Regions from separate parts of the Homo sapiens genome. Here regions 1 and 2 are each linked to region 3. Evidence: promoter capture Hi-C in 16 types of primary human blood cells and fetal thymus (Javierre and others, 2016). All regions are on one chromosome and are shown on one strand. Each heading gives the region's core, a stretch centred on a gene start or on the middle of the fragment in contact. The rest is flanking DNA. Distances are from core to core; before and after follow the strand shown. Region 1 overlaps OFD1 (OFD1 centriole and centriolar satellite protein). Region 2 holds the start of TCEANC (transcription elongation factor A N-terminal and central domain containing). Region 3 holds the start of ASB11 (ankyrin repeat and SOCS box containing 11).

What was found. The method cuts DNA at HindIII sites, captures the fragments that hold promoters and counts their contacts. A CHiCAGO score of 5 or more calls a contact.
Region 1: a fragment that was not itself captured here is called in contact with the fragment with the promoter of ASB11 in region 3 in 1 of 17 cell types (total CD4 T cells); the score reaches 5.7 in total CD4 T cells.
Region 2: a contact is called between the fragment with the promoter of TCEANC here and the fragment with the promoter of ASB11 in region 3, in 1 of 17 cell types (neutrophils). The highest score is 5.7, in neutrophils.

The regions. Positions count from the first base shown.
Region 1 is chrX:13,757,050-13,759,749 of GRCh38, reverse strand. It overlaps OFD1 (OFD1 centriole and centriolar satellite protein), which reads right to left. Exons shown (of 23, transcript NM_003611.3): 14 at 1,960-2,090; 15 at 1,302-1,413. Among named protein-coding and RNA genes, the nearest start is that of OFD1, 24 kb to the right of the region's middle. RefSeq lists an enhancer at 307-396. The HindIII fragment of the contact is 161 bases long and covers 1,370-1,530 here.
Region 2 is chrX:13,651,790-13,654,489 of GRCh38, reverse strand. TCEANC (transcription elongation factor A N-terminal and central domain containing) reads right to left here and starts at 1,349. Exons shown (of 5, transcript NM_001297563.2): 1 at 1,302-1,349. LOC107985657 (a long non-coding RNA gene) reads left to right here and starts at 1,051. Exons shown (of 1, transcript NR_171573.1): 1 at 1,051-1,993. RefSeq lists enhancers at 1,127-1,216, 1,477-1,666 and a silencer at 1,237-1,548. The HindIII fragment of the contact is 12,822 bases long and covers 1-2,700 here.
Region 3 is chrX:15,314,314-15,317,013 of GRCh38, reverse strand. ASB11 (ankyrin repeat and SOCS box containing 11) reads left to right here and starts at 1,374. Exons shown (of 7, transcript NM_080873.3): 1 at 1,374-1,589. The coding sequence starts at 1,409. The HindIII fragment of the contact is 9,481 bases long and covers 1-1,485 here.

The sequences.
Region 1 (2,700 bases), core at 201-2,700, 1.6 Mb after region 3:
TTATTTATCCCAGCATGAATATTCATACAGTTGACTGCAAAATAATTAATGTGCTTTACTATAGGATGCTGTTCAGAACTCCCAGGGCTATTGCGAAATCCACAGCATATGGCCCGAGTTTCATATAAGGAAGTGAGGACCTGCATTCACAACAACACTGTGGTCAAGAAACTCTCACTGCTCCCATTTTACAGATGGGGGGACTAAAGCTTACTGAGGCTGGGTCACACGGTTAGCAAGTCTAAGAGCTACTGGGCTTTCCTAATGCAAAGCCAGTGCACCTGCCCCTCTCTCCTGCAATGCCTCCCCGTGATGCTACAAGAAAGAAGCTTGCCCTCGGCAACACATGCATGCGAAAGAGTTCTATCCTCATTCAACTATTTTTTATTGATAGGAGACTGCTATGATTTCAGCTGTGAGAAGTTTCACAAACAGAACTGAAAGAAAATGAGGAACAGAAAAAAGCAGAAACGAGTAGAGATAAAAATAAAACAAGTGCTGGTAGAAGAGAGCAAGGAGCTGATGAGGAAACAATGCAGGTGGGAACAAGGAAGGCTCAGACCCAGTTGAACTGGTAACACATACGTACTTTCTTTGAACTTGAAAGCAACTGAAGAATAAAGTATCTGAACTTTAATATCCTTCTTACGAAGTAGGAAGGGGCAGAGATGCATCCACAGTGAAGACACAATAATAAAATGATACCAATAACCATTTCCTGAGTGTCTTTTATGTCCCAGGCACTGGACTGAAACCCATTTCATCTTTTTCATCATGGCTCAGTAGGTATTATTATCCCCATTACAAATGAGGAGACTGAGGCCCAAGGAAGTTAAAGTAACATGCCCAAGGTCAAACAACTTCAAAACGGGTCCAAAAGAAGAACAGTTCTGATTCTGAAGGCAATATTCTTTTTGCTAAACCACCCTGCTTGTCCTGTATATTTATATATCTATCAAGGAATCCGTAAAACTACTGAATTGGTGTTAACATTGGGGTAACAAATAAAAAAGGAAATCCTATAATGAATATGGGGACTTCTATGTTACCACCACGCCTTTCCTATTGGGGCATGAGACTCTCCCAAGCCATGAGGCACCTATGAAGCAAAATACTTTTGCTGATGATCCAGATGGTATTACCAAAATGGATAGGGAGTTTTACTTCTAAGATGACACATATTTCTATGGCTTTTCCCCTAAAACAATAATTAATATTCAATAAATTATGATCATTACATTTTCACAGACACCAGAAGCTTTATACATACAAAAATATTTATGGGTTAAAACGTCTCTAACCTGTCTGAGTTTGCTTCAGTTGCAATTTTAAATCGGCAACCTGAGTAGTTAAACTCTTTACAGAAGCTTTGTAACCTAGAATCTGGGCCTTCAGCTGTGCAGAATGCTCAATCTGAAAAGATTCAGAATAGGAAAAGAAATCAATGTAAAACAAATCACAGCTTGCTTCAAAAGGAAAAGTTCTCTTATCATGTTTGTACTCTTTTTGTTCTGCCAATTCCAAGAAGCTTTATGACAGTAAACAACAGGGTCCCTATTAAAAAAAAACACAAGCAGAACACACAAACAAGTTCTTCACCATCTTTTTCAGTCATATCAAAGAACTCTAGGGCATGCAGGCAGAAATCAGAAGACAGTGAATGTTTGTAATACTTATCAGGGTGAGAATCGAGAGATAACAGTGGGCACCATCAGGCACTCAGAAAATTTTATGTTTAGGTGAGTTTGCTTTCTTCTCCATTTTATTACTATTACGAATATAAAGTCACGTTATCACTGCAGAATTTTCTCAGATGAGAAAGGATACCTTTAGCATATTTGGGGGAGTAATGTTTGATGTTAAAATAAATCTGATTTACACTAGTGTGACTTGTGCCAAGTTTACGTAACTATGAAGTGTACTGGTATCACACTAGAACTGAAGAAGAGCAATACTCACTTCGTCTTGCAGTTGTTTGTGCAGAGCTTGCCTGCAGCTTTCGAACTCCTCATGCTCAACCACTATAGCCTTTTCGGCTTTCCGTAGTTCTTTCTGAAAGACTGCAAGTTCAGGAGCCGGCTGAGCTAGGCCTAAGAAGGTAAAAAAAAAAAAAAAATCCTAGTCATTACCAACCTTAAGTTTTCTTATTTAACTTAACAAAAACAGTTAAAGGGGTTTTAAAGTGTTCTTTGCTTTGTACTGACTCAATAAATATGATAATAATTCTATTAAATGAGCTCAGAGCAATCCTGACTCTCAAATTTCACAACAAAAGAATTTAGTGCATGTTAATGCAAACTTTATTACCCTTGGAGTCCTACTCCAAGTAAAAGAACTCTTTCAAATTCTCAAATTAACCTGAAAGCCTGTTTCTCTCCTCTACTGTGCACAGAAGGAGCTCTCTATCTGGTCTACCTGTTGATGACAGCCCTGGGATCCAATATGATCTGGGCATCTGACAGCAGCAGTTGGGATCCAGGCAGAAGGCAGATGGCTCTCACGGTCAAGGTCATCTAAGAACCCTTTAATAAAGGTTGACTTATTCAGGGTATGCACAAAGGATGGTGGAGTTCCCTGGGTGGGCTAGTAACAGGGCCATACTGTTAGCGCTCCTTGGGCCTGGGGAATCAGAGGAGGGAGAAATTCTCAGCACTAGAGACAGGGTGGTGGTGCAGAGCACTTGGAAGAGGTAATCGCAGG
Region 2 (2,700 bases), core at 100-2,599, 1.7 Mb after region 3:
AAAGATCAGAAGGTATATATTCTAGGCTTTGTAGGCCATACAATCTCTATGGACTACTCAACTCTGCTGCTATTGTAGCAGCAACAGCAGATACAGAAAATAACATAAATGGATAGGCATGATCTTGCTCTGGTAACACTTGTTTACAAAAACAGGCAGGCTGGATTTGGCTGCAGGCCATAGTTTGTTGACCCTTTTCTAGAGCAGGGCTGTGCAACATATATATAACATGTAAACCACAAATATGATTTAAAATTTTCCAGTAGTCATGTTAAAAAATAAAAATTGGTGAAATTAATTATACATTTTATTTAACCCAGTGTATCCAGAATAGTCATTTCAACATGTGATTAATATAAACAAATTGAGATATTTTACATTCTTTTTCATGCTAATTCTCGAAAATTCACTGTGTCTTACACTTACAGCACATCTCAATTCGGACTAGCCACATTTCAAGTGATCAAGCCTTATGTAACTAATGGCTATCATTATTGGGACGCCACGGTTCTAGAACTGATGCTAATATGGATAATGCTTGCTTAGGTGCATACCTATACCAAAAAGTGTATACAGTGCCAGGAAAAGTAGGCACGAAATATGGTATTGGATCCATATAAAAACTTATAAAGATTAGCTAATATTATAGTAAGCAAGGTGCACACATCTGCACAAAAATGGCCTAAACCCTGAGAAGAACGAGAGGAAAGGTCTGGAAACAATGTTTCCAGAAGTTTGTAACAAGTCAAAAATAACCTAGATCTGTTCAGATCTTTAGATCTCTTTAAAGCCTAAAGAGAAACTGTAACTTTCTAGCCCTAACCCACTTAACAGCTCCCCAGCTTCACAGGGAGCCCCGCCCTCTATGGAGAGAAACGATGCCAAATGTTGGCAGCGGTGTAGCGGTTACTGAACAGCCACTCAGCACTGCACTAGGACCATTTCCCTTAATGGTGACCCCTAGTAAAGGTGCAGCGAGAGGAAGGGACCAGCCCAACTGCCCGGTCTAGCCCGGGTTCGAGTTCCGGTGGGTGGGGTCGAGCAACATGCAAAGCCTGCCGCTAATCATCTTGGGATGACGGCCCGGCACCCAGCACACAAACAGCGACAGTCCCGAGGGTTCAGCCCACTCTGGCGACCTCGACAGTCGGAGAGGAAGGGGCGGGGGTGCGAGCACCTTCGGATCTACGCCGCCCAGGGCGCACCGGAAAGCTGCCGCGAGCCGGGGTGGGCTTCCGCTGGGAATAAGGGCTCGCCTTTTTGCGGGACACAGGCCCTGGCAAACCTGAAGCATGACTCACCGAAAAGCGCAGGCGCAGTTCCGGAGCCTTCAGCCGCCCAGTGCCCACGGAGAACTTCCGATCACCGGGACTGGGACAACGTCAAGGCTCAGCCAATCCAAGCCCACAGGCCGGCGCACGTGGTCCTGGGACCCAGTGCATGCGCGCTAGGGAAATGGCTGCCGTGGGACTGCGCTCGCGCGGCTTCCTAGAGGAGGAGCCATGGCCCCGCCCCGGGCCCGAGAGAAAGAAACTGCACTTTCGTTTTTTAGCAGCAAAGTTTGTTGATGTACTTTACAACTTATCTTTTCTGCTTCTACTCAGGACAGTCAAGACAGTGCTCAGCTAGATGTTCACATAACTGTAGACATAAATGTGAATCTATTTAACGCAGTAATTAATTCAAAAAGTGTTTTTAGCATCCTAGCATGCATCAGTTGATATGAAAGTAGTAAATGTTAATTGAGTGGTCTTGTGCATCCTGGACTTCTCATCTGTGCATATTCTCATTCTTTGCCTGCAAAGGGCCAGTAAAAGCACAGTGATGGTTGAACGAATGTGACAGCCTCCTTTGCTGATGCCTTACCCCAAGGTAATTTGGGGAAAGGTTCAGGGAAACAGAGTATCCAATCCAATACTCTGGACTGGGTGCTGGCAGGAAGGAGGGCGATTGTATGATTAAGTATCATAATAAATCTTACCTAAAAGGAGGGGAGACAAGACCAGTGACTCATTAACTGGGATAGGGGATGTTTGGTCATTTTTGTGGTTTGGACAATGTTTACGTTTTTTCAGCATTCCCACGTGATTACGAAGGAGTCTTGTTTTTGTCTTGATCCATCTGGTCAAAGAGTGGCCACGTCTGATGGTGTTCTGTGAAGTATTTATGTTCCACGCAGCACCAAGGCCCAGCTGTGACTGCCGGGGCAGCTCAGAGCTGTCAGGGGTTACTTTTTTCTTGCTGTCTATTATAGGGCTAAAATGTTTAAGGATTATATAATACCTTTTTAAAGAAAAAATTATTTGGCTGGGCGTGGTGGCTCATGCCTGTAATCCCAGCACTTTGGGAGGTCGAGGCAGGCGGATCATGAGGTCAGGAGATCGAGACCATCCTGGCTAACACGGTGAAACCCCGTCTCTACTAAAAATACAAAAAATTAGCCAGGCGTGGTGGCACGTGCTTGTAATCCCAGCTACTTGGGAGGCTGAGGCAGGAGAATCGCTTGAACCCGGGAGGCGGAGGTTGCAGTGAGCTGAGATCGAGCCATTGCACTCCAGCCTAGCGACAGAGCAAGACTTGGTCTCAAAAAAAAAAAATTATTTAATGACACTTGTCACTTGTTAAAGCATGGTAAGGAAGACTTTATTCAGGACCATTGAGATAGACATAGGTACCACTGCAACAGGGTCTTGCAGTGGG
Region 3 (2,700 bases), core at 125-2,624:
ACCTAGGGCATCTCTTTTGTCCATTTCACTATGACTCTTCCATGATCAAGGATAGCCCACATTTTTCAGAAATGGGCACCACCTTTACCAATGCTTGAAATGCAAGTGAATGATCAGGAGGGAACCTTGCCATGGGACCTTGTCCCAGATGGAACTACCATGGCGAGTAGTCTGATGCTTCTAGTGTGACACTTACTTGGAGAGGCATCCAAGATAGGCCTTTTATTAAATACAGGCTTGGCCGGGTGCAGTGGCTCACACCTGTAATCCTAGCACTTTGGGAGGCCAAAGTGGGTGGATCACCTGAGGTCAGGGGTTCGAGACCAGCCTGGCCAACATGGCGAAACCTCGTCTCTACTAAAAATACGAAAATTATCCAGGCGTGGTGACGCATGCCTGTAATCCCAGCTTCTTGGGAGGCTGAGGCAGGAGAATCGCTTGAACCCAGGAGGCAGAGGTTGCAGTGAGCCGCGATCGCACCATTGCACTCCAGCCTGGGCAACAGAGTAAGACTCCATCTTAAAACTAAATACATACATACGTGCATACATGCATACATACATACATACAGCTTTAGGGTAAATTGTCTTTTTTTTTTTTTTTTTTGAGACAGAATCTTGCTCTTGTCACCCAGGCTGGAGTGCAGTGGCGCGATCTCGGCTCACTGCAACCTCCGCCTCCCAGGTTCAAGCAATTCTCCTGCCTCAGCCTCCTGAGTAGCTGGGATTACAGGCACCTGCCACCACGCCCAGCTAATTTTTGTACTTTTAGTAGAGACGGGGGTTTCGCCATGTTGGCCAGGCTGGTCGCAAACTCCTGACCTCAGGTGATCCGCCTGCTTCAGCCTCCCAAAGTGCTGGGATTACAGGAGTCAACCACCGCGCCCGGCCAGGTAAATGGTCTTTTTTAACTGGTCATATTTTAGATTTGGATTTAATCCTCTATAAACTTCAGAATTAAGAGAAAATGAAATGCTCCAGGGAGTAGTATTTCCCACTTAGAACATACAGCATATTTGCACTTCTTTTGTATGTCAAATAACTTGCTTTGTTTCTGTGGAAGCCAAGAAGTTTCTATCTTTCCAACCCTGCTTTCTAACATAAAATAGGAAAAATAGGGGTTTAGGAATATAAAATGTTTGGATATGAATCTTATCTGTTAGATAGTACTGAGTTATGTAGTTCTAGAACTATTGGATGTTTCTGGTTAGAAGGAAGTTTCTTTAGTTTATTTAACACTGCTGTGGAGTCAGCACATGCAGTCGCCAAATCAGTTAGATTAGAACCTACAGAGATCTCGGTAACAGGAGCACTGAGTGCTAGAAGGTTTAAAATAGATGTCATATGATACCAATTATAACTCAGTGAAATTTTACAGTCCTAGGACCCTATACAGAGCATAAGCCAAAATGGAAGATGGTCCTGTTTTCTATGGCTTTAAAAACATTTTTATTACAATGTTTGCTACGTTTTTTTTCTTTAAGCTTTTAATTAAAGTTTTTTTGGCTCTCCTAACCCATTTCTATATCGTCAAAGGAAATAGAAAAGAAGCGGCTAGGATAGCAGAAGAGATCTATGGTGGAATTTCAGGTAAAAGTACATGAATTTGTTCCTAATATTTAAAGAAAATCCCTCCTAGATAATTCATATGACTAGTATTTCTGGAAGGCAGATTATATTTATACTTTGATTTTAAGTGGGTAGTTTGAAAAATTGTCACTTAAAGTAGCAAATGCTGTTGGCTGCATCAATTTGTGGAGGATTTTCAGCTTTATTTTTTGCAAGTTCGTAGATCTTGTAGCAGTTGTTATTTAAGAAGTAAATAGGTAGTGGCTTACTAAGAGTATTTTGAGAAACTTCATTTCTACTAGCCAAAGTAATTACTTGTATATAATTATTTTCTTTAATATTTTAAAGCAAACTTTAACAATGAAGGGCATTCTAACCAGACTAAATTCTCTCAGGAAATAGAATGACTAATAAATTATAATTAAAGCAGCAAACGTGGCAAGCTATGTGTATTTTTTTTGCTGTCATTTGCAACTGGAATTGATTAACCACTTGTCACTGTCAGGAAAAGCTCTTCACTAAACCCATTTTATATGGTAGCATGCAAAGCACTCCAAACAAAGTTTATTCTAACATGAAATGCCAAGATTTGGGCAAAACATTTTAAATTCTCATGCTTTGTAGAGAATAGTGTCCATTTCTTTCAAGAAATGATTTACTTTAATTGTGGTGAGATGCTACAAAAGTAAATGAGTCAGATATCCCTGTCACTCCTGGGATTGTCACTTAATAGAGGAGTATTTATTCATAAACAGAGTTCAGAATTTCCCCGTGTATTTTTAGTGTTTGCAGGGGTTCCAGGATTACATCATTCTTTATCTAGTATCCATTTCAATTTGCATCCAGGATTCTCTTTCAAAATAGTCTTATGTGATTCCAATACACTAGACAACTCAGAAGACACTAGACAACAGCAGTCTTATCTAAAGAAATAAGACCTCCAAGGACGAAGCATCAGAATGCTTCAATTAACTGGGGAAAATGAGAAGAATTGTGAAGTTTCAGAACGTATCAGAAGGTCCGGACCATGGAAAGAGATTTCTTTTGGGGATTATATTTGTCACACATTTCAGGGAGGTATGTTACTTTGACTAGTTACAAAAAAAAAAAAAAAAAGTAATGCTTCTGATAA